Linked DNA regions of Homo sapiens: regions 2, 3, 4, 5, 6 and 7 are each linked to region 1. Evidence: promoter capture Hi-C in human tissues and cell types (Jung and others, 2019). All regions are on one chromosome and are shown on one strand. Each heading gives the region's core, a stretch centred on a gene start or on the middle of the fragment in contact. The rest is flanking DNA. Distances are from core to core; before and after follow the strand shown. Region 1 holds the start of USP18 (ubiquitin specific peptidase 18). Region 2 overlaps BCL2L13 (BCL2 like 13). Region 3 overlaps BCL2L13 (BCL2 like 13). Region 4 overlaps BCL2L13 (BCL2 like 13). Region 5 overlaps BCL2L13 (BCL2 like 13). Region 6 overlaps MICAL3 (microtubule associated monooxygenase, calponin and LIM domain containing 3). Region 7 overlaps MICAL3 (microtubule associated monooxygenase, calponin and LIM domain containing 3).

Evidence for each region. Contacts are between HindIII fragments. The study calls those that stand out against the background at their distance.
Region 2: a contact is called between a fragment that was not itself captured here and the fragment with the promoter of USP18 in region 1, in 1 of the 25 tissues and cell types used here (dorsolateral prefrontal cortex).
Region 3: a fragment that was not itself captured here is called in contact with the fragment with the promoter of USP18 in region 1 in 1 of the 25 tissues and cell types used here (lymphoblastoid cells).
Region 4: a fragment that was not itself captured here is called in contact with the fragment with the promoter of USP18 in region 1 in 2 of the 25 tissues and cell types used here (dorsolateral prefrontal cortex and lymphoblastoid cells).
Region 5: a contact is called between a fragment that was not itself captured here and the fragment with the promoter of USP18 in region 1, in 1 of the 25 tissues and cell types used here (lymphoblastoid cells).
Region 6: a contact is called between a fragment that was not itself captured here and the fragment with the promoter of USP18 in region 1, in 1 of the 25 tissues and cell types used here (dorsolateral prefrontal cortex).
Region 7: a contact is called between a fragment that was not itself captured here and the fragment with the promoter of USP18 in region 1, in 2 of the 25 tissues and cell types used here (lymphoblastoid cells and spleen).

The regions. Positions count from the first base shown.
Region 1 is chr22:18,148,106-18,152,422 of GRCh38, forward strand. USP18 (ubiquitin specific peptidase 18) reads left to right here and starts at 2,065. Exons shown (of 11, transcript NM_017414.4): 1 at 2,065-2,117. It overlaps LOC124905076 (a long non-coding RNA gene), which reads right to left and starts at 1,109. Exons shown (of 2, transcript XR_007067999.1): 1 at 995-1,109. RefSeq lists an enhancer at 1,806-2,125. The HindIII fragment of the contact is 12,042 bases long and covers 1-3,338 here.
Region 2 is chr22:17,644,256-17,648,572 of GRCh38, forward strand. All of the region lies in intron 1 of BCL2L13 (BCL2 like 13), which reads left to right. Among named protein-coding and RNA genes, the nearest start is that of BCL2L13, 7.7 kb to the left of the region's middle. The HindIII fragment of the contact is 4,256 bases long and covers 1-3,956 here.
Region 3 is chr22:17,679,338-17,683,654 of GRCh38, forward strand. BCL2L13 (BCL2 like 13) reads left to right here. Exons shown (of 7, transcript NM_015367.4): 3 at 3,877-3,984. Among named protein-coding and RNA genes, the nearest start is that of BCL2L13, 43 kb to the left of the region's middle. The HindIII fragment of the contact is 4,441 bases long and covers 373-4,317 here.
Region 4 is chr22:17,708,544-17,712,860 of GRCh38, forward strand. The region is part of intron 6 of BCL2L13 (BCL2 like 13); the gene reads left to right. Among named protein-coding and RNA genes, the nearest start is that of MIR3198-1, 54 kb to the right of the region's middle. The HindIII fragment of the contact is 6,813 bases long and covers 1-4,317 here.
Region 5 is chr22:17,725,551-17,729,867 of GRCh38, forward strand. It overlaps BCL2L13 (BCL2 like 13), which reads left to right. Exons shown (of 7, transcript NM_015367.4): 7 at 1,127-4,317. The coding sequence ends at 1,984. Among named protein-coding and RNA genes, the nearest start is that of MIR3198-1, 37 kb to the right of the region's middle. The HindIII fragment of the contact is 3,423 bases long and covers 374-3,796 here.
Region 6 is chr22:17,788,440-17,792,756 of GRCh38, forward strand. It overlaps MICAL3 (microtubule associated monooxygenase, calponin and LIM domain containing 3), which reads right to left. Exons shown (of 32, transcript NM_015241.3): 30 at 2,763-2,862; 31 at 2,559-2,632; 32 at 1-2,477. The coding sequence ends at 2,293. Among named protein-coding and RNA genes, the nearest start is that of LINC00528, 13 kb to the left of the region's middle. RefSeq lists a silencer at 82-294. The HindIII fragment of the contact is 5,973 bases long and covers 1-4,317 here.
Region 7 is chr22:17,805,905-17,810,221 of GRCh38, forward strand. MICAL3 (microtubule associated monooxygenase, calponin and LIM domain containing 3) reads right to left here. Exons shown (of 32, transcript NM_015241.3): 29 at 2,940-3,033. Among named protein-coding and RNA genes, the nearest start is that of LINC00528, 31 kb to the left of the region's middle. RefSeq lists an enhancer at 2,769-3,565. The HindIII fragment of the contact is 6,514 bases long and covers 1-4,317 here.

The sequences.
Region 1 (4,317 bases), core at 815-3,314:
ACTACACAAACGCCCACTTTGCTTGACACACCTGATGGCCTTAGCACGGAATTGTTCAGGAGGGTACCATGAAGGACGGAAGGAAGAGCCCCATAGAAGTGTAATGGATCCTTACATTATATAGTCCAGCCTCCAACCCAAGGTTCACCCTTGTCCATTCTGCACTGGGGCAGCAACACCAATTACTTTGCTCCACCGACCTACCAAGATTCAGATAGAATCATTGGATTGACTATTAATAGTTTTCTGCTGATAGTTGCTGCAAGCAACTGCAGCTTGCTCCTTAGCCTTCTACTGACTTGCTGTATTTAGCATATTTTATCAAATTTTGCAACCTCCTCTCCTCATTGCCCTCACTTGAGTTTTTGAGGTTCCTGTTTGTGGACAAGACTTACCAGATGTATGAAGCTGGTTATATAACTGATTGGTCAGCAAATATAATGAGGACGGACCCTGCGCCCACCACCGTGTACCTGTGTAAACACCATACTGCGCAAAGTCCACCAGCCTTCCAGGGAGAACATGCTGCACTGTGGGCGACACTGCCTCCGTTCCAGCAGCAATGTAAGCGGAGTCTGGGCTGACGATGGACGTGTGGATAGCCTGTATGTGTATATCTGTGCTCATGCTTCTAACACACATCCACCCTATTATGGACACGTTTATACATCTTCATGCCATGGTATTTTGTACCTTACTGCAGACCCTACCAACGCTTCAGTGAGGTTCTGGCAGCTTTGGGTTTTTGGAGGCTATTTGTCTGTTGCTGCGGGGACGGCTTTCAGAAAGAATGATCGCTTTGGGGGAATTGTACCCTGCTTTCCTGCGCAAATTCCAGCGGCTGGAGTTTGAGGCCCCTAGCAGATAACCCTTCTGCCCCTACCCCCATGAGTCTACATACAAGAAATACATCTCTAAAGAGGTAATAAGCCTTTCCGGTGTGCATGTTACAGATCTCTTAACCTTATATATACACAGATGGTCCATCACTTACCGTGGTTTCACTTACGATGTTTCGACTTCATGATGGGTTCACTGGGACTTGACCCCATTTTTTTTTTTTTTTTTTAGACGGAGTCTTGCTCTTGTCGATCTCTGCTCACTGCAACCTCCGCTTCTTGGGTTCAAGTTATTCTCCTGCCTCAGCCTCTTAAGTAGCTGGGATTAAGCGCCACCACGCCGAGCTAATTTTTGTACTTTTAGTAGAGATGGGGTTTCACTATGTTGGTCAGGCTGGTCTCGAACTCCTGACCTCAGGTGATCCGCCTGCCTCAGCATCCCAAAGTGCTGGGATTACAGGTGTGAGCCACCGCGCCCCCTGACCCCTTCTTAAGTGGAGAAATATCTGTATCTGCATGCCCACAGGGGAGCTCCTAATTACACCATGTGCCGCATCCAAGCCACAGGCCGGTGATGTGAAGACACCCGATCCAAGAAATACAATAGCATTAAGAAAGAAAAAATGCTGCCATGGATACTACCAAACGCCAAATGACTCTAACACGTAGGCTAATTGCAAGGACCTTAAAATCGCAAATAAAAAGGCGCCTGTAGGTCGGGCGCGGTGGCCCACACCTGTAATCCCAGCACTTTAGGAGGCGGGCGGATCACCTGAGACCAGCCTGGCCAGCATGGCGGAACCCCATCGCTACTAAAATACAAAAATTAGCCAGGAGTGGTGGCGCATGCCTGTAATCCCAGCTACTCCGGAGCCTGAGGCAGGAGAATCGCTTGAACCCAGGAGGCGGAGTTTGCAGTGAACCGAGACAGCGCAACCGCACTCCAGCCTGGACGACAGAATGAGACTCCGTCTCAAAAAAAAAAAAAAAAAAAAAAAGCGAGGGCTGGAAGTCTGGAGCAGGTGCGCGGCTGCAACGGCAGCCGCGGGAAGCTCGGGCCGGCAGGGTTTCCCCGCACGCTGGCGCCCAGCTCCCGGCGCGGAGGCCGCTGTAAGTTTCGCTTTCCATTCAGTGGAAAACGAAAGCTGGGCGGGGTGCCACGAGCGCGGGGCCAGACCAAGGCGGGCCCGGAGCGGAACTTCGGTCCCAGCTCGGTCCCCGGCTCAGTCCCGACGTGGAACTCAGCAGCGGAGGCTGGACGCTTGCATGGCGCTTGAGGCAAGTTCGGGGCTCATTTTGGAAGTTTTCTTTCTAGCACAGACATCCAACTCTGCTCCTATGCCAGTCAGATAATTAAGGAATTAAGTAATAATTGTGCTCTGCAAATTATGATAGTGATCTGTATTTACTACGTGCATATATTTTGGGCCAGTGAATTTTTTTCTAAGCTAATATAGTTATTTGGACTTTTGACATGACTTTGTGTTTAATTAAAACAAAAAAAGAAATTGCAGAAGTGTTGTAAGCTTGTAAAAAAATTCAAACAATGCAGACAAATGTGTCTCGCAGTCTTCCACTCAGTATCATTTTTGTTTGTACCTTATCAGAAATGTTTCTATGTACAAGTCTTTAAAATCATTTCGAACTTGCTTTGTCCACTGAGTATATTATGGACATCTTTTCATGGCAGGACATATAGATGTGTTAATGGCATTAAAAATAAAACAAAAAACTGATTCGGCCGGGTACGGTGGCTCACGCCTGTAATCCCAGCACTTTGGGAGATCGAGGAGGGAGGATCACCTGAGGTCAGGAGTTACAGACATGGAGAAACCCCGTCTCTACTAAAAATACAAAATTAGCCTGGCGTGGTGGCGCATGCCTGTAATCCCAGCTACTCGGGAGGCTGAGGCAGGAGAATCGCTTGAACCCGGGAGCGGAGGTTGCGGTGAGCCGAGATCGCACCGTTGCACTCCAGCCTGGGCGACAGAGCGAAACTGTCTCAAACAAACAAACAAAAAAACCTGATACATGGTATGGGAAGTACATTGTTTAAACAATGCATGGAGATTTAGGTTGTTTCCAGTTTTTACTGGCACAGATACGGCAATGAATATAATTTTATGTATACATTCATACAAATATATCGGTGGAAAATTCCTAGAAGTGGAATGGCTGGGTCAGTGGGCATTCATATTGAGAAATTGGAAGGATGTTGTCAAACTCTGCAAATCAGAGTATTTTAGTCTTAACCTCTCTTCTTCACACCCTTTTCCTTGGAAGAAAGCTAAATTTAGACTTTTAAACACAAAACTCCATTTTGAGACCCCTGAAAATCTGGGTTCAAAGTGTTTGAAAATTAAAGCAGAGGCTTTAATTTGTACTTATTTAGGTATAATTTGTACTTTAAAGTTGTTCCAGAAAACAAGGCAAATACTGAAAAGCATTTCATCTGAAGTTTCTTTCTGGTATTGAACAGAGTTGGATGGAGAGTGAATGCAGGTTACCGATGTGTTCGCAGGAACAAAACGGGAGGGAGAGTAACACAGGTGCACGGCTTCATATTGATTTATCAAAGAACTTGCTTTTGGACTGTTAAAAAATGTGTTGCACAGTTCTGACACTTTTACACAATGATGAGCTTACAAAGGGGAAAATGCTTAACATAAACATAGTTTCAAAGAAGGTAAGTCCTAGTTTTTCCACGAGCTGTTTTTTTTTTTGAGAGAGAGTAGTCCCAAAATTTCCCTATTATGTGGTTTTTCATCCAAAGTGTTGTAATCCGTGTGTTCTAACCCGCATATTACGATTACTCAAGAAATGCAAAATAGGCCGGGCGCGGTGGCTCACGCCTGTAATCCCAGCAATTTGGGAGGCCGAGGCAGGTGGATCACGAGGTCAGGAGATCAAGACCATCCTAGCTAACACGGTGCAAACCCATCTACTAAAAATAAAAAATATTAGCTGGGCGTGGCGGCAGGCGCCTGTAGTCCCAACTACTCGGGAGGCTGAGGCAGGAGAATGGCGTGAACCTGGGAGGCGGAGCTTGCAGTGAGCCAAGATCCGGCCACTGCACTCCAGCCTGGGCGACAGAGGGAGACTCCGTCTCAAAAATAAAAATAAAAATAAAAAAAGAAAAAAGAAATGCAAAATAATGTGAACACGTCATCGAGACTGCGGTCTACAATTGTGGTTGCCATGATGGGGTGGGTCGGAAGACACCGAGGCTGCTTGAATCATGTTCCTGGCAGGTTAATTTTGTTCCTTTTAGGGCATCTAAATGTTGGAGTTGGCTTTCCTGGCAGAGAGTCCAGTTGTGAGTGGAGTATTGGGTGGAGGCCCCACCCTCCCCAGGTTTTCTGCAGCTTGTTCCTGGCTCTTCTGGGGCTTCTCTGAGGACCCCGATTGGTCCTGGGGCTTCTTTAGTGGTGGGCCTGGGCCAGTTCCTTCCGTTGCTCACCTCTCCCCGAAGCTTAAG
Region 2 (4,317 bases), core at 579-3,078, 500 kb before region 1:
TGTGAATTTTTATTTTTCTCTTTATAAACTGGGATTATAGTTGTGTTCAACTCTGTATTACTGGAGCATTTAATAATTCTTTTTTTTTTTTTTTGAGACAGATTCTTGCTCTGTCACAAGGCTGAAGTGCAGTGGCACTATCTCGGCTCACTGCAATCTTTGCCTCCTGGGTTCACGCCATTCTCCTCTCTCAGCCCCCTGAAGTAACTGGGACTACAAGTGCGTGCCACCACGCCCAGCTAATTTTTGTATTTTTAGTAGAGACAGGGTTTCACCACGTTGGCCAGGATGGTCTCAATCTCTTGACCTCGTGATCCGCCTGCCTTGGCCTTCCAAAGTGCTGGGATTATAGGTATGAGCCACCACGCCCGACTGCATTTAATAATCTTATAATATTTTAGTGGAAGGAAATTTAGAAACAGGTTTTTGAAATAATTTATTAAAATGTGTTAAACTATAGGGTGTTTTGGTTTTCGTTCTGTGAGGTTAGAGAATACAGTATAAGTGTGATACTCTAAATTAGTATATCTAATGTGAGTGCTAGGAATTTCTTTTTTTTTTTTTTTTCTTTTTGAGACGGAGTCTTGCTCTGTCATCAGGCTGGAGTGCAGTGGCACAATCTCAGCTCACTGCAACCTCTGACTCCCTGGTTCAAGGGATTCTCCCACCTCAGCCTCCTGAGTAGCTGGGATTATAGGCACACGCCACCATGCCTGGCTAATTTTTTGTATTTTTAGTAGAGACGAGGTTTCACCATGTTGGCCAGGATGGTCTCGATCTCCTAACCTCGTGATCCACCCACCTCGGCTTCCCAAAGTGCTGGGATTACAGGCATGAGTCACCACACCCAGCCTAGGAATTTCTTTTTAAATAGGCATCCAAAGTAATTTGATGGGACAAGTTTGGGAAACAAATACAAAAGACTGTCATGTTGCTGCATATTTGCTTTACATAAGAACTAATAGTAGGATTTTTTTTTTTTTTTTTTTTTGGAGGCAGAGTCTCACTCTGTCACACAGGCTGGAGTGCAATCTAGGCTCACCGCAACCTCTGCTTTCTCGGTTCAAGCGATTCTCATGCCTCAGCCTCCTGAGTAGCTGGGATTACAGGCACACACCATCACGCCTGGCTAATTTTTTTATTTTTAGTAGAGACAGGGTTTCACCATGTTGGCCAGGCTGGTCTCTAACTCCTGGCCTCAAGTAATCCACCCACCTTGGCTTCCCAAAGTGCTGGGAAGTATAGGCGTGAGCCACCATGCCTGGTTTATAGTAGGATTTAATAGCTGCTGTGTACCTTCTGATTATGTTTCATAAAATGTGTCTAATTCCTACAATATAATCAGCACTGGTAGCATTCTGGAACTTGGACTGGTACTTGTAATAGAAATCTGGTTTAGAAAAGAAAATGAACCATATATTGTAGAATTGTGGATATACATTTGTTGTTAAAGGTTCATGGATGTTTTATTTGTGGCTGGTTTTGGAGATGACACCAAATGAATACATAAACACAGCATGAAGTTAGTCTAGGTTTCCTTAGGCTGTTTGGCTAGCAACCACAGTTGGCCCTCTTTATCCAGTTTCCATATCTCTGCAGATTCCACCAGTCTTGATTGGAGAATATTTAGGGAAAAAAACACAAATAACAATAAAAACAATACAAATGATACCAATACAGTATAACAGCTATTTAATGGCATTTACATTGTCTTAGGTATTATAAGTAATCTAGAAATGACTTAAAAGTATATGAGAGGGAGGAAGTGAGTAGGTTATATACAAATACCACACCATTTTGTATAAGGAACTTGAGCATCTGAGGATTTTGGTATCCACAGGTATCCTGGAACCAATCCCACATGGGTACCAAGGGACAATTCTACTTGAAACTTAATAGAGGAACAAAGTAAAAAGATTAAGGCACAGAAAGAAACAGGTGGGTTACATATTATGTTTAATAGTTTGAATCGTACAAATTATAGCAGGTTTTTTGTTTGTTTGTTTGAGACAGAGTTTCTCGCTCTTGTTGCCCAGGCTGGAGTGCAATGGCACGATCTCAGCTCACTGCAACCTCCACCTCCTGGGTTCAGGCGATTCACCTGTCTCAGCCTCCTGAGTAGCTGGGATTACAGGTGTGCATGCCACCACGCCAGGCTAATTTTTGTATTTTTAGTAGTGACGGTGTTTCATCATATTGGTCAAGCTGGTCTCAAACTCCTGACCTCAGGTGATCCGCCCACCGCACCCTCCCAAAGTGCTGGGATTACAGGCATGAGCCACTGCGCCTGGCCAAGATAGCAATTTTTATAGTTAAGATCATCTATGTATTTACTCACTTCTGGATACCAAGAACACTTGTACTAACTTGAATTTTAAGAGGTCCTATTAGATAAAATTCAATGAGTAAAGGTAACTATATGTCCCTCTCATCATTTGAAAAGAATCTTGAAATATCTGTCTTTTTTTTTTTTTTTTTTTTTGAGATAGAGTCTAGCTCTGTCGCCTAGGCTGGAGTGCAGTTGTGCAATCTCAGCTCACTGCAGCCTCTGCCTCCCAGGTTCAAGTGATTCTCCTGCCTCAGCCTCCAGAGTAGATGGGATTACAGGTGCCTGCCACCACGCCCAGCTAATTTGTGTGTGTGTGTGTGTGTGTGTGTGTGTGTGTGTATAAACTACATATATATATATATATATATATATTTTTTTTTTTTTTTTTTTTTTTTCTTTTTCTTTTTGGGATGGAGTCTTGCTCTGTCACCCAGGCTGGAATGCAGTGGCACAATCTTGGCTAACTGCAAGCTCCGCCTCCCGGGTTCACACCATTCTCCTGTCTCAGCCTCCCAAGTAGCTGGGACTACAGGCACCTGCCACCACGCCTGGCTAATTTTTTTGTATTTCTAGTAGAGACGGGGTTTCACCGTGTTAGCCAGGCTGGTTTCGATCTCCTGACCTTGTGATCCGCTCGCCTTGGCCTCCCAAAGTTCTGGGGTTACAGGCATGAGCCACTGCACCTGGCCTAATTTTTGTATTTTTAGTGGAGACGGGGTTTCACTGTGTTGGCCAGACTGGTCTCGAACTCCTGACCTCGTGATCCGCCTGCCTTGGCCTCCCAAAGTGCTTCTACAAAAGCTTTAGGTGATGGTCCCGCGTCATAATTACCTTTCATCCAATCTAGCTTTTTTTTCCCCCCGTCCATTCTCAAAACTGACAAATTTGCTTCTTTCAGTACTCTGGATCTGTGATACTACAAAAACCACCTTGTTTTGCTACCGTATCCTTCCGTATTACTAGTGTTAGTGTTTTCACCTCTGCATTCCTCTCACCTAGTACATTACCTGGCATATAGTAAATATGTGTTGAATAAATACAGTTAAGGTCTAAGAGGAAGTGAAGACGGTGTACCCAATTAAGTGGTTGTGCTGTTACCTAGCTGTATGATTTTAGGCAAATAAATTGTTCTTGTTTCTCCATCTATAAAATTTTCATTCAAGTATAGAGGATTACTGTGACAACACATAGAAAAATGCTTTAGAAACAGATGTCACGAAGATGTAATTTATATATGATGTTTATTAGAAATGCCAAAGTCCCTCCGGGCGCAGTGGCTCACGCCTGTAATCCTAGCACTTTGGGAGGCCAAGGTGGGCGGATCGGGAGATAAGGAGATCGAGACCATCCTGGCTAACACGGTGAAACCCCCGTCTCTACTAAAAAATACAAAAAATTATCCGGGCTTGGTGGCACACCCCTGTAGTCCGAGCTGCTTGGGAGGCTGAGGTAGGAGAATCGCTTGAACCCAGGAGGCGAAGGTTGCAGTGAGCCGAGGTCATGCCACTGCACTCCTGGCGACAGAGACTCTGTCTCAAAAAAAAAAAAAGAAATGCAAAAGTTCATTGTGCAATATACTTATTAGACACTGCAGAATGTTGCAAAGGAAGTGGGTGTCCTCTCCCATTTTGTGCTTAGAGACATAACCCTGTAGTAGTGCTGTGGAGTTTACACTTGGCCTGTTATCAATACCTTTGTCCTATAATTTAATATAAATGTGCTAGTTACATAATAGTGTTCTTGGGATCTGACTTTTCCCCATTTAACCATAGTCCTGAAGGAGCTGCTGCATTGCTACACAACTGGAAGCTCAAGCTAAATTAGAAGTTGGGGCCAGATATGGTGGCTCACGCTTGTAATCCCAGCAATTTGGGACGCCAAGGTTGGAGGATCACTTGGGGCCTGGAGTTTGACACCAGCTGGGGCAACATAGTGAGACTCCATCGCTACAAAAAATTTAAAAATTAAAAAAAAAAGTTGCATGGCTG
Region 3 (4,317 bases), core at 1,343-3,842, 470 kb before region 1:
CTGCTCACCACAGCCTCCAACTCCTGGGTTCAAGTGATTCTCCCACCTCAGCCTACCGAGTAGCTGTGATTACAGGCGCCTGCCACCATGCCTAGCAAATTTTTGTATTTTTAGTAGAGACGGGATTTCACCATGTTGGCCAGGCTGGTCTTGAACTCCTGACCTCAGGTGATCCGCCCGCCTTGGCCTCCTGAAGTGCTGGGATTACAGGCGTGAGCCACTGTGCCTGGCTGGTTTGGCTCTTTTTATCCTAAATTTTTTGTTTAAATGTTCTGTAGTACTGAAATCACCTGAAAGTAGAAGAAAAAAAAATTATTCAAGAAAGAATATTTTTGCAATGTAGGGAGAGCTTGAGCTTTTTATATAAGCTTTTAAAGCTTTAAAAGGAACTGTGCTGTTTTACCCCCAAATTTGCCCACTTTGAATTCAGGAGAAACGTTTTGGTCTCCTTTATGTTCTAGTCTCTGGATACAAATGTTTTCTTTGTTCGTTTTTTCCCCTTATTACCAACCACAGGTTCTTAGGCTCCTGTGTAATAGAAATTGACACAAGGCCAAGCAAGTTTCCCAGACAAGGCTATATTAAGACTTATGGGCCAGGCACGGTGGCTCACGCCTGTAATCCCAGCACTTTGGGAGGCTGGGGCGGGCGGATTACCTGAGGTCAGGAGTTCGAGATCAGCCTGGCCAACATGATGAAGCACCATCTCTACTAAAAATACAAAAAATTAGCCGGGCGTGTTGGCAGGCACTTGTAATTCCAGCTACTCGGGAGGGTGAGGCAGGAGAATTGCTTGAACCCCGGGGGGCGGAGGTTGCAGTCAGCCGAGATTGTGCTATTGCACTCCAGCCTGGGCAGCAAGGGCGTAACTCTCTCTCAAAAAAAAAAAAAAGCTGGGCACGGTGGCTCACGCCTGTAATCCCAACACTTTGGGAGGCCGAGGTGGGCGCATCACGAGGTCAGGAGATCAAGACCATCCTGGCTAACACGGTGAAACCCCATCTCTACTAAAAATACAAAAAATTAGCGGGGAATGGTGTCGGGCGCCTTAGTCCCAGCTACTCGGGAGGTTGAGGCAGGAGAATGGCATGAACCTGGGAGGTGGAGCTTGCAGTGAGCCGAGATCAAGCCACTGCACTGCACTCCAGCCTGGGAGAGAGCGAGACTCTGTCTCAAAAAAAAAAAAAAAAAAAAAAAAAAAAAAGAAAAAAAGACTCATACCTAGAAAGGTTGGACATAAGGGAGACAGCACAGGAGGAAGGGTTCTCCAGCTGGCTCTCCGAGGGGAGTGCATTGCGGTGTCTTAAGGAGGGTGGCATGCATGATTCACGAGGTAAGTGAGCATCACTACGTGTGTGGGGTGGAGTGCAGACACGGTAAGGAATCGTGCTAACACATGATCAGAAAGTGGCAGATAAGCGTCTTTCTGGGTGGTGATTTTAGTATTATAATGAGGCTGGTGATTAGGATTGGTCATTGTCCTTGAGCTCGTGTGAGTGGTAGAGCTCACTCCCTTGAGTAAGATTTATGGCAGGCTGCTGCCTATAGTTTCTTCATACCATACCTGCGAGGTCTGGTCAGCAGGTATGGTGCCAGTTGGGATGGCGCTGTAGGGTGTGGCGGTCACTGAGAACGTATGGAAAAACACATTAGTGGGGTGGGGCCAAGTCCCATTTCCTACTCTGTCGCACCTCCATGCCCCGCGATTACTCGTCTTGATCTGTCTCCTGGAGCCTTTTAGTGGTTGGTGATCATTGGCCCTGCTCATTAAGTCAGGTTACCCAATAGTACAAAACTGTAGTACATTAGCCAAATGAAAGAGGACTATATTATGCAGTGGGTGTGAGTATGTGAATTCAGGGACGGGGAAAGAAGGAGAATTAGATGGGCTGGGCGCAGTGGCTCACACCTGTAATCCCAGCACTTTGGGAGGCCGAGGCAGGTGGATCACGGGGCCAGGAGATCGAGACCATCCTGGCTAACACGCTGAAACCCTGTCTCTACTAAAAATACAAAAAATTAGGCGGGTGTGGTGGCGGGCGCCTGTAGTCCCAGCTACTTGGGAGCAGGAGAATGGCGTGAACCTGGGAGGCGGAGCTTACAGTGAGCAGAGCTTGCGCCACTGTACTCCAGCCTGGGGGACAGAGCGAGACTCCGTCTGAAAAAAAAAAAAAGGAAAATTAGATGGTAATTAGTAAAGAGTTTAAACCAAGGCTTATAGAGGTCCTGAGAGGGTCCATGAATGCCCTAAAATTGCTTGCCAAACATTGTGGGAGGAGGGGCCATTATTTTATTGACATTCTCTTAAGAGCCTGAAATCTCAAAAAGCCCAAGAACAAGAACTGCTGTGCTGTGATCACTGTCATAGAGGCAGGCTTGGACTTTGGGGTGTTTGATTTAATATAGTCCATGCTTGCAAGAATGGCGAGAGGCGACATTGTGCAGGGGTTAGGGCCCAGACCCTGAAAGTTGACTGCCTGGGTTTGTATCTGAGCTCTGCTGTTGGTGCACCCTTGGTCACATTTCTTCCCTGTGTCTTGGTTTTTCACCTGCAAACTGAGGATAATAGTAATACCTATCTCAAAGGGTTGTTATGAGCATTTTATGAGCATATGTGTATATACACATACATACATACGTACGTACATGTACATACAAAGTGCTTAGTATAGTGCCCCCAGCACTTGATATTAGCCATTATTGTGTATTGTTATCACTAAAACTAACTTGGGTGAAATTGGACTGTCAAATGACAGAGGTACTGCTTTCAGGCTTCAGCAGTATCTTTTTTTGTACCTTAGTACTTGCAAAGATATATAATTATCTTGCTGTATTTAGAAAACTTAGTAGCAAAATAGAATTAACCAGTAATAAGCATGAGAGACTGGTGATGAGCATAACTCATAAATCTAATGTGATTGGTACAAAGAAATCGTTATGCCCACAGTGGTGGAATTTTAGCCTCAGTTGTGTGCTTTGTGGACTTAAGCAGCAGTCAACTAACTGTTGTGGGCAGGGTTGGGGGAAGAAAAGAAAGAAAATTACAAAGCATGTATAAAATGCTAGAAGTATATCATCTAAAAATGTGTCCAAAAGTGAGATACAATTAGGGATCTATATAATTTGAAGTGGGGGGAATGGACATCTCCCACCACCACTGAAATATTAATAGCATGAATTCTTTTTGTTTTTATCATATTCCATCTTCATACTTTTTAAAAAGGATACATTGTCTACAAAAAGAGAGGACTGGCCCGACTTATTGATACATCTTTCCCAACCTCCTCTTGAGTTAATGTGTTTCTGAAGATTCAGCTCAATTTCCCTGTTTCTGGCAGAAACATCTGGAAAGGTGGAGACTTACTCACTCTCAATCCATAGGCCCAAATATTTCTACTAAAGGTTGTTTTTGATTTTTGTTTTTTAATTATTGCAAAAAGGATTTCCTCCCGTCCCTAATTTTGATAATGAATTTTGATTTTGCATTTTTTGGCTTAACAAATTGCTATTGTAGGGCTGGGTGCAGTGGCTTACGCCTGAAATCCCAGCACTTTGGGAGGCCGAGGCAGGCGGATCACAAGGTCAGGAGTTCGAGACCAGCCTGGCCAACATAGTGAAACCTGTCTCTACTAAAAATACAAAAAAATTAGCCAGGCGTGGTGGCAGGCGCCTATAATCCCAGTTACTTGGGAGGCTGAGGCAGGAGAATCGCTTGAACCTAGGAGGCAGAGGTTGCAGTGAGCGGAGATCATGCCATTGCACTCCAGCCCCAGTGACAGTGCGAGACTCCGTCTCAAAAAAAAAAAAAAAAGTGCTATTATATTCTAATGGTTTCTCTCTCCCTCTTTCAATAATAACCTTTTTTGTTGCTTTCAGGGGTTCAACTAGATATAGCTTCACAATCTCTGGATCAAGAAATTTTATTAAAAGTTAAAACTGAAATTGAAGAAGAGCTAAAATCTCTGGACAAAGAAATTTCTGAAGGTCTGTTTATTCTTATTTTTCTAGTTAATAAGCAGATTGTGTTTGTTATGGTTTACTGTTGGTTTAATTTGATTTTTACAGTGGGGTATTCTCAACAGTTAACAACTTACACCAATTATACATTGGTAGAAGTTTATAAGGGTAAAACTAGAAGGTAGCCTTTTTTCTTTCCTGGAGGATATGTTGATGGAAGTTCCCCAACTATACCTAACAGGTTAGATGTAGCAGTTTCTCATGTTAAGTATCGGATAAATGATCATGTTAAGGTTCTTTCCATTCACTATGGTTTGATTTGTATTTAGTATTACCTTTATAAGTAATAACGACATAAAA
Region 4 (4,317 bases), core at 637-3,136, 440 kb before region 1:
AAGGGTTACCTATTATTGCTATCCAATTTGTCATAGCAAGCTAAGGGACCTTGGGCAAGTTACTCAAACCCTTTGGCTTCATTTATTTAAAAACAAAAACAAAAAAGACGCAGTTCTCTGCTTCTTTGTGCATATTTAAACTCATGGTTTATCCCATGAGTTTTATATTTTTGAGCCCTCGAAATTACTCCTTTGCATTTTATGTCAGTGAAGCCAAAGAGACAGATACTCTCAACAACACAAATATTTTGTATTAAAAACTATTTAGATTGTTAGAATGGTTCCGAGGCTACTTGTAGATATTATTCTTCTAATATGATAAGTTGTAAGTAATATATTATCCAAAACAGCTCTTTTTCTTTTAGTGAAAGCCTGCTCTTCATTATGACATTAATTATTAAGAGAGGCTCGGCCGAGCATGGTGGCTAACGCCTGTAATACCAGCACTTTGGGAGGCCGAGGTGGGTGACTCACAAGGTCAGGAGATCGAGACCATCCTGACTAACACGGTGAAACCCCGTCTCTACTAAAAAATACAAAAAATTAGCTGGGCGTGGTGGCAGGCACCTGTAGTCCCAGCTACTCGGGAGGCTGAGGCAGGAGAATGGCGTGAACCCAGGAGGCAGAGGTTGCAGTGAGCCAAGACTGCGCCACTGCACTCCAGCCTGGGCGACAGAGTGAGACTCCATCTCAAAAACAAAACAAAACAAAAAAAAGAGGCTCCAGCCCGGTGACATGGCAAAACCCTGTCTCAAAAATATAAAACTGAGGCTGGACGTGGTGGCTCACGCCTGTAATCCCAACACTTTGGGAGGCCAAGGTGGGCAGATCACCTGAAGTCCGGAGTTCGAGACCAGCCTGGCCAACGTGGTGAAACCCCATCTCTATGAAAAATACAAAAATTAGCCAGGCATGGTCGTGCATGCCTGTAGTCCCAGCAACTCGGGAGGCTGAGGCAGGAGAATTGCTTGAACCCAGGAGGCGGAGGTTGCAGTGAACCAGGATTGTGCCTCTGCGCTCCAACCTGGGTGAACAGAGAGAGACTCTGTCTCAGGAAAGATAAATAAATAAATGAAATAAAAAATAGAAAGATTAGCCAGGCATGGTGGTGGGTTCCTGTAATCCCAACTACTCAGGTGGCTGAGGCAGGAGAATCTCTTGAACCCAGGTTGCAGAACCCAGGAGCTGAGATTGTGCTGCTGCACTCCAGCCTAGGCAACAGAGTGCTATTAAAACAAAAGAAAACATTGACCGGGTGCAGTGGCTCACTCCTGTAATCCCAGCACTTTGGGAGGCCGAGGCAGGCAGATTGCCCAAGTCCAGGAGCTCAAGACCAGCCTGGGCAACATGGTGAGTGAGAGCCCATCTCTACAAAAAATATAAAAATTAACTGGAAGTAATCTGTGGTCCCATTTACTCAGGAGGCTGAGGCAGGAGGATCACTTGAGCCTGGGAGGTCAAGGCTGCAGTAAGCCAAGATTGCGCCACTGACCTCCAGCCTGGGTAACAGTAAGACCTTGTCTTAAAAAAAAAAAAAAAAAAAAAAAAAGAGGCTGCTATTTTTATATTTTTGTTTTATGTGAATTGGTCCCCAGGAGTAAAAGCTTAGTAATCTGTTCTTTCTTGTAAGACTTCTTACATAACAGCACAGAATGTTCAGTGAATCTTCATTAAAATGTCACGTCCTAAATACAGAAATACATTGTAAGGTAGGGAGGCCATGACAGCAAGACATAAAGCTATTTAATCTGAATTGGCCGGGTGCAGTGGCTCACACCTGTAATCCCAGCACTTCGGGAGGCCGAGGCAGGCAGATCATTTGAGGTCAGGACTTTGAGACCAGCAACATGGTGAATCCCTGTCTCTACTAAAAATTAAAAAAAAAAATTCTCCGGGCATGGTGGCGCACACCTGTAATCTTAGCTGCTCCGGAGGCTGAGGCAGGGGAATCGCTTGAACTTGGGAGGCGGAGGTTGCGGTGAGCTGAGATCACGCCACTGCACTCCAGCCTGGGTGACAGAGCAAGACTCTGTCTCAAAAAAAAGTAAATAAAAATAAAAAATAAATAAATGCCTGTAATCCCAGCACTTTGGGAGGCCGAGGTGGGCAGATCACGAGGTCAGGAGATCGAGACCATCCTGGCTAACACGGTGAAACCCCGTCTCTACTAAAAATACAAAAAAATTAGCCGGGCGTGGTGGTGGGCACCCATAGTTCCAGCTACTCGGGAGGCTGAGGCAGGAGAATGGTATGAATCCAAGAGGCGGAGCTTGCAGTGAGTCAAGATCGAGCCACTGCACTCTAGGCTGGGCGACAGAGCGAGACTCCGTCTCAAAAAAAATAAAAATAAAAAAAAATAAATAAATAAATCTGAATTGGCTTTTAAACAATATATTACGCCAAAGTTGTGATCAGACAAACTTGATCTAATGTCTTAGATGAGATGAAAAGATCCTCTAGATGTGGAACAAAGAACGTTCTTCAATCTTTTGTTAACTTTGAGCTGTTAAAAATAAGGGGAAAAGCCAGGCGTGGTGGTGCGGTGGCTCATGCCTGTAATCCCAGCAACTCAAGAGGCTGAGGTGGGAGGATCTATTGAGCCCAGGATTTTCAGGCTGTAGTGAGTTACGATTATGCCACTGCACTGTAGCCCCTGGGTGACAGAGTGAGACCCTCATTAAAAAATAATCATAAGAGGAAGAGACATTTTACTTTTAATTTTCAGTTTGTTGACTTTTCCCTTATTTCTTCATGATGGGCCTTTTTTTTTTTGAGACAGGGTTTCACTCTGTTGGCCAGGCTGGAGCGCAGTGGCACAATCTCGGCTCACTGCATCCTTTACCTCCTGGGCTCAAACGATCCTCCCACCTCAGCCTCTTGAGTAGCTGGGACCACAGGCATGCACCACCACACTCAACTAATTTTTGTATGTTTTTGTAGAGGTGCAATTTTGCCATGCTGCCCAGGCTGGTCACAAAATCCTGGGCTCAAGTGATTGCCTGCCTCTGCCTCCCAGAGTGCTAAGGTTACAGGCGTGAGCCACCACACCCAGCCATGATGGTACTTTTGAAATTTCCATTTTACTTACTTGGCTTAGAGCCCTAAAGGTCTGTTTACTGAGAACTAAAATTCTTAGTGTTTTCGTTATGACTCTTGTTTTTGTTTTTGCTTATTTAATCAGTTACTGCTATTAGAGGCTCTGTTTTTAGAAGTGCAGGTAAGTAACCTGTTGAGAATTCCTATCAGTTGTCACTTGAGACCTCTCTGATCACTGGATGACCCTTCTGTTTGAAGAACTGTGTAATTGTAAGGCACATCTTTTGACATGGCATGAAAACAGATTACAAAACTTGTATAGTATGAATAGAAAGTGAGAGCAGAGGTGACTCCAAGATTAAGAATAAAGAACATAAGAAATTATGTTCCTTGTCTCCAGGTAACTCAAGTTTGGAGGTGGGAGTTTAATAACGTTTTTTGAAGGTTTTTTTTTTTTGGTGTAAATTTTTAATGTAAGTGAAAGACTAGGAAGAGTACACTGTTTTAAGCCACTTGTAGTGAAGTAACTGATGTTCTTTGACTATTTTTCGTAACTCTGAAATGCAAATTATTTGATAAAATTGGATGATCTTCTCATGGTGAGACTGTGACAGATTTACTCAGTATTGTATATTAACTTTCCCAACTTGTTCTTCATTTAACAAAAAGACTTAGCCTAGTTTTAAAATGTTGATAGTTTCAATAATGAAAAAAGTTTAATCCTCCACAATGCCTCATCACTTTCCTGTTAGTGACATTACATTACAGAGATTTGAGGATGGAGGATTACAAAGCTGCTAAGCCATAGTATTAGTTTCTCATTTGGAAATTTTGAAAGAGCAAATAAATAACATAAGTGTACTACAGTTAATAAGGGACAAATGGGAACTTTGTGCTACCTTATACTACCATTTTCTTCTTCCTTGTAAAATTACTCTGTACCTGAGCCTTTCTTTCTGATCTTCACAAAATGGAGGTTTTTGAAGACATGACTTAATAAACAGATAAGCCTTTGGGTATATAAATTATGTGACACAGTAATTCCTTAGTAACAGATGTTAGAGGATCTGCATGACTCATTCGGATTATGTTCTGGCAAAAAGATAGGTAAATACAACTTTACAGGAAAATTTAGCTTAACTGTTGATATGGCTTTGGTGAGTGGGTTCTCCTCCGTCTTGGACCTCCAGTCTTTCAGGAAGATTACAGAAATGTTTCCCTAAGTAAACAGTAGCTATTTTAATTCATGTTGCCTACTGTCATTCTTTGTTATGGTGACTT
Region 5 (4,317 bases), core at 835-3,334, 420 kb before region 1:
CTTCTAAGGAAAGCAACACTGCCATATGAACTCTTAATGGCACTTGGACTATGACATAGCATTATTTGTATACCCTACTAAGTGATAAATTCCTTGAGCACAAGGTCTTGCCTTTGTTTTCTCTGCTGTTTTGCATTAATTACTGCATTGAACATACAGGGTGAGTATCCCTTATCCAAAGTGCTTGGGATCAGAAGTGTTTTGGATTTTAATTTTTTTTTTTTTGATTTTGGAATGTTTGTGTGTATGTGATGAGATGTCTTGGGGATGGGAAAGCCCAAACATGACATTTACTTCTTTTTGTATGCACCTTATACATATAGCGTGAAGGTAATTTTATATAATATTAATATATTAATTTACAAATATACAATATTTATAACATAAATATATATAATATTTTGTGTGCATGAAGCAGATTTTTGACTGTGTTTTGCCTGCAACCCACCACATGAGGTCAAGTGTGGAATTTTCCACTTGTGATGTCATTTCAGCACTCAAAAAGTTTCGGATTTTGGGCCGGGCACAGTGGCTCACGCCTGTAATCCCAGCACTTTTGGGAGGCCAAGGCGGGTGGATCACTGAAGGTCAGGAGTTCCAGACCAGCCTGGCCAACATGGTGAAACCCCATCTCTACTAACAATACAAAAGTTAACTGGGCGTGGTGGCAGGTGCCTATAATTGCAGCTACTGGGAAGGCCGAAGCAGGAGAATCGCTTGAACCTGGGACGCGGAGGTTGCAGTGAGCTGAGATTGTGCCACTGCACTCTAGCCTGGGAGACAGAGCAAGACTCCATCTTAAAAAAAAAAAAAAAAAAACCTCAGATTTTGGATCATTTCAGATTTCAGGTTTTCAGATTAGGATGCTCTCAGCCTGTGTGTGAATTACACTGAATGTATATTAACTTAGGATTTTTTAGTTTCAAGGAGACTGCTCAGAAGACTGTCAAAAATTCTTTCTCTGCATTGGCCTACAAATACATGCATTCCATTCGGAAACTATGTAGGTTTAAACAGTGTTTCATTCCTAGAACTTCAGTTTAGGAAAGAATTTGCTTTCCAGATTGATGTTTATGTTTTAAATAGTTACCATTCTTTATTATTGACGCTTGTCCTTCGTTTCTAGGGCACTGTGTTTAGTCTTGAGTCAGAGGAGGAGGAATACCCTGGAATCACTGCAGAAGATAGCAATGACATTTACATCCTGCCCAGCGACAACTCTGGACAAGTCAGTCCCCCAGAGTCTCCAACTGTGACCACTTCCTGGCAGTCTGAGAGCTTACCTGTGTCACTGTCAGCTAGCCAGAGTTGGCACACAGAAAGCCTGCCAGTGTCACTAGGCCCTGAGTCCTGGCAGCAGATTGCAATGGATCCTGAAGAAGTGAAAAGCTTAGACAGCAACGGAGCTGGAGAGAAGAGTGAGAACAACTCCTCTAATTCTGACATTGTGCACGTGGAGAAAGAAGAGGTGCCCGAGGGCATGGAAGAGGCTGCTGTGGCTTCTGTGGTCTTGCCAGCGCGGGAGCTGCAAGAGGCACTTCCTGAAGCCCCAGCTCCCTTGCTTCCACATATCACTGCCACCTCCCTGCTGGGGACAAGGGAACCTGACACAGAAGTGATCACAGTTGAGAAATCCAGCCCTGCTACATCTCTGTTTGTAGAACTTGATGAAGAAGAGGTGAAAGCAGCAACAACTGAACCTACTGAAGTGGAGGAGGTGGTCCCCGCACTGGAACCCACAGAAACGCTGCTGAGTGAGAAGGAGATAAACGCAAGGGAAGAGAGCCTTGTGGAAGAGCTGTCCCCTGCCAGCGAGAAGAAGCCCGTGCCGCCGTCTGAGGGCAAGTCTAGACTGTCCCCCGCCGGTGAGATGAAGCCCATGCCGCTGTCTGAGGGCAAGTCTATACTGCTGTTTGGAGGGGCTGCTGCTGTTGCCATCCTGGCAGTGGCCATCGGGGTAGCCCTGGCTCTGAGAAAGAAATAGGAGGCTTTTCAGAAGAGAAAGACAGAAGGATGTAAGGTTGGAGTTGTATTGGCTGGAATTTGAACCTCCAGCAGCTGTCTGGACATTTGTGGAACACTCTGGGATAATTGGGGACTTCTGCTCAACATGGCAGTGGCATGTTAGGCATGTTAGGGCTTGAGGTGGGGCATTCACATTCATCTGACTGTAAATCCCAAGGGCCTCCGCTCATGCTAAATTGAGAATCTTAGGGGTAAAGCACCCCCTCCAGGACCGGGTTTCTCAGCCTTGGCACTAGTGCTGTTCTGACCATTCTCTGTGTTGGGGCTGTCCTGTGTGTGGTGGGCTCCACCCACTAGATGCCAGTGGCACCCCCTCCCAGAGATGACAAACGAAAATGTCTCTAGACATTGCCAAATGTCCCGTGTGAACATCCCCTATTGAGACCCACTGCTTTAGCGAGAGAGGGTTTACTTAGGAAGAATTGGGATAGAAATTCCCAGCTGAGAGAACTTAGCTGTGGGCTCCTCAGCTACTGACTTCTTAGCTCTTAATCCCCTTAGAATTTCATCTTTCTCGATGAGCAGGCTCTGCACCCACTCTTTTTTTGCCCCCCGCCCTCATCCTGGAGTGTGAGGGTGCTCGCCCGTACTCTCAGCTGCCTCTCAGGGACTGCACTGTTCCTCTTCACCCCCAGGTTCCTGCTAAGATCCCACGGGCGAGGGCTTGCTCTGGACTCAGTCTGTCAAGTCCCCGAAGCTTCCTGCAGCTCCACCTTGTAAAAATGCTGCCTTTGGGAATCTTCGAAATATGTACACAGAGAAAATCACATGAAGGAGACCTGGGGTCCCCACTTGTGAGTGCAACTGCAAGTAACTCTGGCTAGAGAGACACATGTGTCTTGTGTCAAGGCAGGAGGATAACCTGGATGACCTTCTGAGGTCTCTTCAGCCCTTTTCGCTAGTGGTCACCCACCACCATGGTTACTTGCCAGCAACATCTCTATTGCTGGATGGTCCCTGTCTATAACCTTGGGCTAGTATATTTTTTCCAATATGGGACCTTAGTCTTACTACTGATGAGTTCTATGGGTCTCTTGCTAGGGGGTAAGGATTTTTATTCTTGGGCTTATAGAGCCAGTTAGATCATAATTCTTATGAAATAGAGAGTGTCCTAAATATCACTGAAATAAAAAGTAGGAAAAAGAAGCTTGAATTTTAAGACTGAGGCTGCTCTGCAGATTCTAGTTTGGCTTTCAGAGTTCAAGAGTGGTGGCATCTTCACCTGAATTCTTCAATGCCAGGGTAATAAACCAAAATAGTCCTAATCAGTATATGCTAGTTGAGCATCGGCATAATTTTCTTTCCTCTGGCTGATCCCAGCCCTAAAGGAAGGGTAGACCCGTGTCTTTCCAGCCCTAAAGGAAGGGTAGACCCGTGTCTTTCCAGCCCTAAAGGAAGGGCAGACCCGTGTCTTTCCATGCCCGAGGGCCACGACGTCACTATGCAGGGCACACGTGGCTTGGTTTAAAAAGGTCATCTTAGATTTATCTTAGTAAATGTAATAAATTATTTTTTAGATCTTGAAATTTATAATAAAAATACTTTACCTACCCTGATCACCAAAACCTGATGTTTTAAATGTGCTTTCTTTTTGAAATTTATGTTTTCAAATAAAATCTCCCTAAAGCAATATTTAAAAATTGGTCAAAACAAGGTCTGGGAGTATGTTTGTGTGTCTTTCCAGCTTTATCCTGTAGCGTGTCTTTGTTCTGTGTTTTAGTGTCCCATTTAGGGAGTGATGTTTTAAGGGTTTTTGTGTACTTGGATTAAGTAATTAGAGGTGAGTGGGGGGAATGGGATTATTGAGGCAATGATTTTTTTCTTCATGGGCTCTGATAGTTGCATTGATTGTTCTGTATTCTAATTGCTATATTTGTGTTTGCATAGGTGAAGAGCAAACTGGTGCGTTATCTTGATTTTTAAAAAGTAATAAATCCTATGAGTTCCAGTATTAACACTTGCCAGTTCTGGATCCTCACACCCATTGGCTGAGCGCATTCAAGCACCAATCGAAGCCAGGTTCATCTCTGAGCTGCTGAAAGGAGGTGTGAGGCTTAGGAAATTGGAGCCTGTGTTGCCCACGAAAGGAAAGAATAAGGAAGAAATGTGGTATGGAAGCGGCTACTTGCTGCTTTATTTTCCCACCTGTTAGACATTCCTCCACAGTGATTTGGCCAGTTGTATTTCACGGTAATGGAACTAGATAGTGTTTTCCATTGGCTTTCTCTGGTAGCTCTTGGTCAGCTCCTGAGTTAACAGGATGTGGCAGCATCCCTGTTCTTCCTTCACGTC
Region 6 (4,317 bases), core at 1,255-3,754, 360 kb before region 1:
ACTGTTTCCCTGTTGTGGGGCCAGCAGGAGCTACAAGGGCCGAAGGCGGCTCTGCCGGGGCTGGACCGGTTTTGTGGCATTCGAGGAGAGGTCTGGGAAAGGCCACGCAGGCAGTGAAGGTCTTTTCCCACGTCCAATTTTATGGGACGACTGGGGTTTGAAGATGGAATCTAGAAACCCTCCTCTCCCCTTTTTTAAGTAAAGAGAAAAGAAAAGGAGACCTTTGCCTCACGTGAGAACAGGTGGAGAATCAGCGCTGTGGCGGCCACTAGCGGCGTTATCTCCCGGATGTGCATGGGAGAGAGATGGCAGCTTCTGGACAGACAAGGATGACACAGGTTCTTTGCTCCTTTGCAGCTGGGATGAATGTTCAAGTTGAAGCACAGTGTGGTTCCCATGGAAAGCCCAAGGTCAGCACAGCCACTCAGCCTGCTCCACTGCGGGACGCCTTGGAGGGGCCAGGCCTCTGCTCCCAGCTGGCCCCAGCCCACGGAGGCGGCAGGCGGCTGGAGCGCCCCTGGCAGGCGGGTCTGGTCCGGATGGCTCCTCGCTGGGCTATGTGCTGACTGCTTTGATGGACAAGCACCCCACCCCGATTAGCTCAGTGGCTTGATGAGCTGTACACAGCCAGGCTGGTGCGGAACCGTGAGAAAGGAACAGTTTGGCTATAGGAGCTAGTGATTCGGGGCTCGCCCTTTATGTCCCCATGAAGATCCGGCACAAGGCAGGTGCCCGTCGCCTTCGGAAGGAAGGGCGGGAGTCGCTGATCTGCTTGAGAGGCACCAGCCTGCATCCCAGCATCCACTGCAGCACTCGCGTTTCCGTCTGGGTGAATCTTAGGCTGGGAGGAGGGAATTCTCACCAGCCACATGATTCCAGGGTCCCACCTTGCACCCTCTTGGCCTGTGTGGATGAGGGCCCATCCTGAAACCTTCTTTAACATATGTGCGGAGGAAGGTGATGCCCTGGCCCCCAAACTGAGACAAGGGCGAGTTCTGCAGAGCCGGAATTCTCACTGGGAGGGTGAGAGTGGCAGCTCTGCTGTTGGCCTGGCCCAAAACAGAACGGAAATGCACCCTCATCACATGAGTGGTCCAGATGGTCTAGCGCCAGGGTGAGGCAGGCACCGGGTGGAGGAGGGGACAGAAAGCTGTGAGGAGGACCCACACAGGGGTTCTGGGCAGCTCCCTGATGCCAGCCAGGCCAGTGATACGAAGAGAAAGGCTAATAAATAGATGCACGTGAGGAGCACCGGGCAGCCCCGGACCAGGTCGCGTAGGACGCACCAGATGCCGCTGTGGCTCCCGCACCCGGGCGCAGGTGATCAGTTCCTCTAGTAAAGATACACAAACGAAGTTACTTCTTTTCAAGTATTAAAAAATAAGTTAATTGACAAAAAGGGTTTGAAGCGGCTGAGCGTCTTGCCAGGTTGTCAGCTTCATTTCAACGTGCAAACACAGGAAAAACACGGAGGAAAAGGTCATCTCCTGTCCCGACATAAATGTGGAACAGGGACAATGCCTGTCTGCCAACTGGGGGCTTAGAATGTAGGGCCTCATCCTGTCCCCCAAAGTCAGCATTTTCCAGTGTCAAAATGGTTGTGAACTACAAGCAAAATGCAGCAACCCACAAGCCTCAGGCCACAGCCAGCAAGCGGCCCAGGCATTTGGCCACTTAGGGTCCAGTGTGTGGTGTTCGGCTGGAGGGCAGACCCCTCCTGCGTCCTCCTAATTTGCATAATAATTCAGGAGCCTGCCCGCACCTCCATGTCTCCTGTGATGCTGGGGTGGGCATGACTGGACGCCCCCATCCTGGGTCTCGATCGCACCCTGACCCCTGACCCTGCTTTCGTGGGGTATTGTTTACGTTTCTTTGGTGGTGCTCCAGGGAGCATGAAGAAGACAGTGCCCCTCGCACGGCGCACTGTGGTTCTGACGGGGAGCAGCTTCCCTCTCTTACCAAATGTGCCAGTGGAAAAAAGGGGCACAGCCAGCACATCCTCAGGGAGCGCGCGGGGTGGTCCCCTGCGTCATGCCATACACGCCGTGCTGCTCCTCTGAGTGGGAGGTCCAGGTGGGCCTCCTCCCAGGAGGTGGAGCCGTCTCAGATAACCACTGTCACCTGGGGCTCCCCACTGCACGCGGGACTCGACCACTTTCCAAGCAGCACACGGGCATCTGAGCGTAAACTCCAAGGAGGTGCCAGGCCTCCTCAGATCGCGGCTCCGGGTGGTTTGGATGCCACTGCCTGGCCAGGCGGATGCCAACAGAAAATGGAGCGTTGGGTGGGAGCTCAGGACCAGTTAAGGCTGAAGCCCTTGGACAGCATGGCAGCCTCCAGGTCCTTGTCCTCCTCTCTCTCCCGGAGCCGCTGCTCCTCCAGCAGCGCCACCAGTGAGTCTCTCTGCTCCACCACCTCCAGCATCTCATTGAGAATCTGCTTCTCTTCTGACAGCTCCTCCTCAGTCTTAAGGTGATCTTGAAGGAGAAGAAGGCATGAGGTGAGGGGCCTGGAGGTGGCACCCACCCTGGCCTCCATGGGTGCCTTACCCCACTCACCTTCCACTGCCATGCGTTCCCGGAGCTCCTGCTGCAGTCGACTCTGCCGGTCTTCCAGCTCCAGCTCCCGGGCACTGAGGAGGCAGGGCAGGAGGGAGACAAGCCACAGTGACTGGGGACCACCCCTCACCCCCAAATCTGGAAGGACCTCCATGCCGGCTGTGACAAGCATAGCGCTGACGCCCCCTACCCAAGGCCACTCACAAGATCATCAGCTCCGACTCGTAGCGCACCATGGCGTTCTTCTCCTGCACTAGCTTGAACCACTCCTGCATCAGCTTGGGGTCGTCCTTCTTGCCCATGCCTGCCGAGAGAACGCTTGTGTCGGGTGCAGGGAGTGCCGCGCCCACCCTGGCCCGCAGGAATCACACGGGGCAAATGTGCAAAGAGGGCCGAGCAAGATGCTGCCGGAACTTCCACTCCCAAGCCAGGCCCAAGGTTTGCCTGCAGCCATGGGGCCCTGGCGTCCCCCTTCCTGGGGCCTGCGCTTTCCCGTGTCCTGCCATCCCTGTTCACCCCGTCAGCGACCTCGCCAGCAGGGACCTTGCCCTCCCCGGGGCTGGTTTCTACCCCTCCTGCTCTGTGTGCTCTCTTAGGATGACTTACATTGCTTTCCCTCTTTTTTGCCACTCAATGTTTATTTGGCACTTGCTATGTACTAGGTCTCCTTGGAGGAAACCCGTCTTGTTAAACGAGACAAATGTGAATTTGTAAACTGCACCCTGCCCTCAGGTCATGCTCATTTAACTCAGCTCTTTCTTGGGCTACTGCCCCTCTCCAGGGGCCACCAGAATAGATGCCTTGTCCATTTGTTTACCTCCTGACCAGGAAGAGAAGATACCACCCCTTAACTTGTGGCCTATCAAGCTTCCGGATGCTCTCCCGCTGGATCCCGCATGGTCGATGCAGGGCATCTCAGGATGGCCGCAGGGTTTCTCACCAAGAGCAGAGAAACACTAGCAGCCCCTGGGGATGGAAGGAGGTGGCCACGCCCTGCCCTGGTCCAATCCAACAGAATGCCTGTGTCTGGTGGCTGCCTGCTAGCTCAGGCTGCCTGAACCAACAGGTGCCGATACCAAACCTCCCCCAGGGACGGCCTGACCACTGGGCTTCACTGTGGCAGGAGGACAGAAGGAAGAAGTCTCCAAGGGACCAAGCCACCCAACGAGAGAACAAGGTCCTTTTCCTTGGAGCACAGAAGTTCATGGCAAAAGTGTGGTCCTGCCTAAAATACATGCTGTGTCAGTGGCTCTTCAATATTTTTGGATTACAAACCACTTTGAGAATCTCATAAAAGCTAGGGACTCTCTTCCTAGAAAAATGCTTATGTGTGCAGAGCAAACCATTTGATGCAGAGTTCCAAGCTGCTCCTGGGCTTCCTGGGGTCCATCCATGGGCCTCAGGTTAAGGGGCACTAGACGGGGACATCTTTCAGAGGCCCTTGCACTCTCTGCGTCCCTTGGCAGGGGGCGTTCTAGGCCAGTTAAGACAAGCCCAGGAGTGTGAGGAACACAGCCTCAGAAGGGCCAGCCACAGCCCGAGTCCTCCCTCACTGCTAGCTGCCTTTCTCCACCTGCCTTTCTGGCACACGGTACACAGACACACCTCTTATCTGCAGTGGTGTCTGCTAGACAGTTAGTCTCTACCCAGTGGCCACACCAAGGAGGCAGAAATGCACCATGTTCAACAAGCAGGGGTTAGTGTCTGTACTGTGCCCTAGTGCACATGCGGTTCTGCTCCCAAGGGGGTTCCTGCCCCT
Region 7 (4,317 bases), core at 1,019-3,518, 340 kb before region 1:
TTTTTAGTAGAGACAGGGTTTCTCCATGTTGGTCAGGCTGGTCTCAAACTCCCGGCCTCAGGTGATCCGCCCACCTCGGCCTCCCAAAGTGTTGGGATTACAGGCGTGAGCCACCGCGCCCGGCCCAAATGTTTTATATGCCAACTTTTCACCCACTGGAGACCATCAACCCAATAATTTGTGCTGCCAGGTGAGCTTGATTTTGTGGAGCCCTCAGGATCAAGTTTCCGCCTCTCTCTGTGTGTAAGTGGCTGAACTCCCTGTAAATGTGTTAGTGAAGAGGACATTTTATTCATTTGTTTATTTAAATTCTGGCCTGCAGCATAGTGCTCACCTGCCACCGTTCAGGGTCTGTCCGGGAGAGCTACAGCTCACTGACAGCACGCACGCCTGTCAGCGAGTCCCTTTATGTAGGTGGGTAACACGTTTTGCTGCGGTATTACAGCATGGCTGGGTTTTTGTTTACTTTGTTTGGGAGCCTCTTGTTTGAGACTTGCTTGTCATGAGGAATAGGAACTGCTGTTAGATTTGCTGTGATCCAACTGTGGAAAAAAAAAAAAAAAAGCTCTTGCCTCATTTTAAACTTCTAGTGTCTACATCATTTAAACTGCAGAAATCCTGAGATTTCCAAGTAAGCTGTTAAAAAAACCAAAAACCAACCAAATAAAAAAAACCATGTTGTCACTTATAGCAACTACAGTTCTTGTGTGTACTGGCTGGATGCCGGGGCTTGGTCATGTCCACCACTCTCTGCTATAACCTGTGTTTTCAAATCTGTGTTAATTATTAACATTTGAGAGTAATTCTTTTTGATTTTAAACTTGAACTTATCATCTTGTGAAAAGAGGTCTGCTGCTAGTTTTTTGAAAACCACTGACTTAGACGGCATTTGGGTTGTGTATGTTTGAGGAAATGTGATTATCTAATGACTAGAAGAAATAATTCTGGCAAAACCCTAACGCCAATCTTCAGTGGTATATTATTTTCCGGCCCTTTGGCAGAAGCTTGAATAACAGGGCCCGTGACAGGGGCGTCGAAGCACTGTTTTACACTCAGACTTCACGGAGGCCACAGGCGCTCAAGTGCTTTACGGAAACCACCAACCTTGATGGCACCACCACCTCAACCTCATGAGTAAGGAGGGCAGGGAGCTGTCTTCTTCCTGAAGGGCTTAAACCATGAAATGCGGTTATTCTGTCTGTGTGTTGAGATCTAATCCACTGCTTTCCATCTTGGCAGAAGTGATTTGTGGAGAAGGGCAAGAAGGAATGAAGATGAGCCTAGGCTCTCTCCTGATATCTTCTGCAAGAAGAGAAATGGCACGAGGGCAGGGCCCCATAGGCCCGGACGCAGTCGGGCACAGGTGGGCTGGGGCCAACTCCATCTGGGCTCAGGCTTAACTGAGGAGGCCAAATCAGAGTGCGCAGAGCAGGGCAGGGGGGCAGGGGCACCGCAGGTTCGCTGGGAAACCTCAGACCTTCTTAGGTGAACCCAAATCTCCTTGCTGTGCTTGTCTCACAGTAACACATCCCAGTCGTCTCAGCCTATCGGATGCTAAGTGCTTCAAGTTTTTGCATTTCCTTTGGTAGCCTGGACTTCATGCATTAACAGCATCAGGTGAGCCCAAACCAAGAACATCCACATCCTCACCTTTCTCCCCATCCCATCTCTTTGACTGAAGGTCATCACTGAGTAGCCCTATAAGCTGCAATTTCCAGGCCTTAAAGGGCCTGGGAAAGGAGACCTACTTCCATTCTGGACTCCCTCACTCCCCACCACACAAACTTCAGTCCTACAGGCCACAGGAATTCATCTTGACACCAGGCACTTCCCATGAGCCCATGGGTCAGTCTTTGAGCAAGATCAGATGGCAGCAGCTGGCCCTGCTCCTGGCCGCCTCCTCCCAGTTCGTCCATTTCACAGAGAGCCTGCCTGTCAGCAGAGGCACCCTGCTCCCCTCTGCCACACTAGAGTGAGGAAGTAAGAGGATACTCCTTTTCTTCATCCCCAGCTCACAATTTAAACGCTGAACCTGCAGGCTATAAAGAGACGGAAGTTCCCCCATCCAGAGACTAGACGAAGATTTGTGGATGTTTGAGAAGGCAGAGTGGCCACTGCACCCCCGGGGCTGGTCCTGCAGCTTCAAGGTCCTGAACCAATAGGACTTCCTGGGCCGTGGGGCCAGAGATGCCTCAGGCACTCCCTTGCATTCTCTGTGCCCAACTATGCTGAGCGCAGCCGCGCAGGTTCCCTGGATGGAATGGCAGGAATGAGCGCACCACATTCTCCAGGGCTTCCCTGCCAGGAGCAGCAGTCACGAGCACAGGGCCCTGCCAGCCACTCCCCGGAGTCTGCTCCACGTCGGCTGGTCACATACCCTGAGCCTCTCCAGCCCTGCCCTAAGTGACCAGCCTTCAGCAGACACAGGGCCTGGGTGCCCTCTGGAAATCTGTGTGTGCCGAGGGTGGCCACATGCTCCCCGACCAGCGGTGTTGAGGGCTCTGTGGGCAGGAGGGTCCCAGGGAACTAACGACATGAGGGGGTCTGGGGGTGCAGGCTGGGGACCTGCTCAGTGCAATTCTGTGATGGTTCCTTGCGGTTCAATCTCCCTCACTCCCAGTTATTCCCTCCTAGAGTAAATGGTGGGGTGGGAAGGAGGGGGAAGAGCCAGCGCTCGCCATCAGCATGCCGGGGACTGAGTTTCACTCTATGGGAAATGGCAGCCCAGAGGGGCTGTGGAGCAGGATGGGCCTGGGGCTGTCTCAGACAGGTATTTTCTTTTGCTTAACAGGAAGCCCCAAATCTCAGAGATGAAGGGCCCCAGAAAATCCTGCTGGAAAAGGAGCTGAATTCCAGGTGAGGTGAAGCAAAACTAGCCTACCACGGCGGGAGGGAGGGCTTCCTCCAGGAGCAGAGCTTAGGAGGGAGCCCGGCAGTACCTGCTTCGCCCCGGAGCGCCTTCTCCACAGCCACGCCCCTTTCCTCCAGCCGCCGCTGCCTCTCCTCCACCTGCTGCAGCTGCCGCTGGATGATCTATGACAGACAGCACAGACTGAGCACCCGGCTCTCCAGCCCTGCTTCAGGAGGACACACAACTCCACACCCACACGAGGGGAAACACAGGAGTTGCCGCTCTGGAAAGGGCTCTAGTCTGTGGGCGGTGCGCTCAGGGTGTGGCGTGGAGACCACCTGCACCAGAACCACCTAGCTTGTGTAGACGCCAGGCTCCGGGCCTTGCTAGTTAGCATCAAAGCGCGTGGACGTGACTCAAGTAGTGACCACCCTCCCAGGAGTGTTGCAGAGACAGGAAGTGGATGTAATCTGTGGCAGGAGGGGCCTGAGTACCAGAACCTCAGACTGTTCTCACGGCAAGACTGCTAGAGTGCTGGAGGGGGTTCCTGAAGAGTGCAGTGGAAATCCCATCTTTACGATAAAAATTTAAAACAGAAGGCCAGGCACGGTGGCTCATCCGTGTAATCCCAACACTTTGGGAGGCTGAGGTGGGCGGATCACAAGGTCAAGAGATCAAGACCCTCCTCGCTAGCATGGTGAAACCCTGTCTCTACTAAAAATACAAAAATTAGCTGGATGTGGTGGCACAGGCCTGTAATCCCAGCTACTCGGGAGGCTGAGGCAGGAGAATCGCTTGAACCAGGGAGGCAGAGGTTGCAGTGAGCTCAGCGCCACTGCGCGTCCAGCCTGGCCACGGAGTGAGACTCCGTCTCAAACAAAACAAAACAAAACAAAACAATAGAAATCTACAGTGGTCTAGATTCAGGGTCTGTGCAGCCTGAAAACAAGCTGGAGAATGGGAGGAGAGCTCTGACCTCTGACCTCTTCCCACAAAAATCCCAGGCCTATCAGAGGCTGAGGGGCCACAAATGGACTCCTGGTGACAGTCCTCACAATTGAATGAGGTGACTTACAATGATTATTCTACAACAAGGGATTCGGGAAACTCAATGCAGGGTTCTTCCTTTTTTTTTTTATTTTTATTTTTATGAGATGGAGGCTCGCCCTCTCACCCAGGCTGGAGTGCAATGGTGCAATCTAGGCTCACTGAAATCTCCACCTCCTGGGTTCAAGCGATTCTCGTGCCTCAGCCTCCCAAATAGCTGGGATTACAGGGGCCCGCCACTATGCCTGGCTATTTTTTTTTTTTTTTTTTTTTTTTTTGAGACAGAGTCTCTCTGTGTCGCCTAGGCTGGGGTGCAGTGGCACAATCTCGGCTCACTGCAAGCTCCACTTGCTGGGTTCATGCCATTCTCCTGCCTCAGCCACCCGAGTAGCTGGGACTACAGGCACTTGCCACCACGC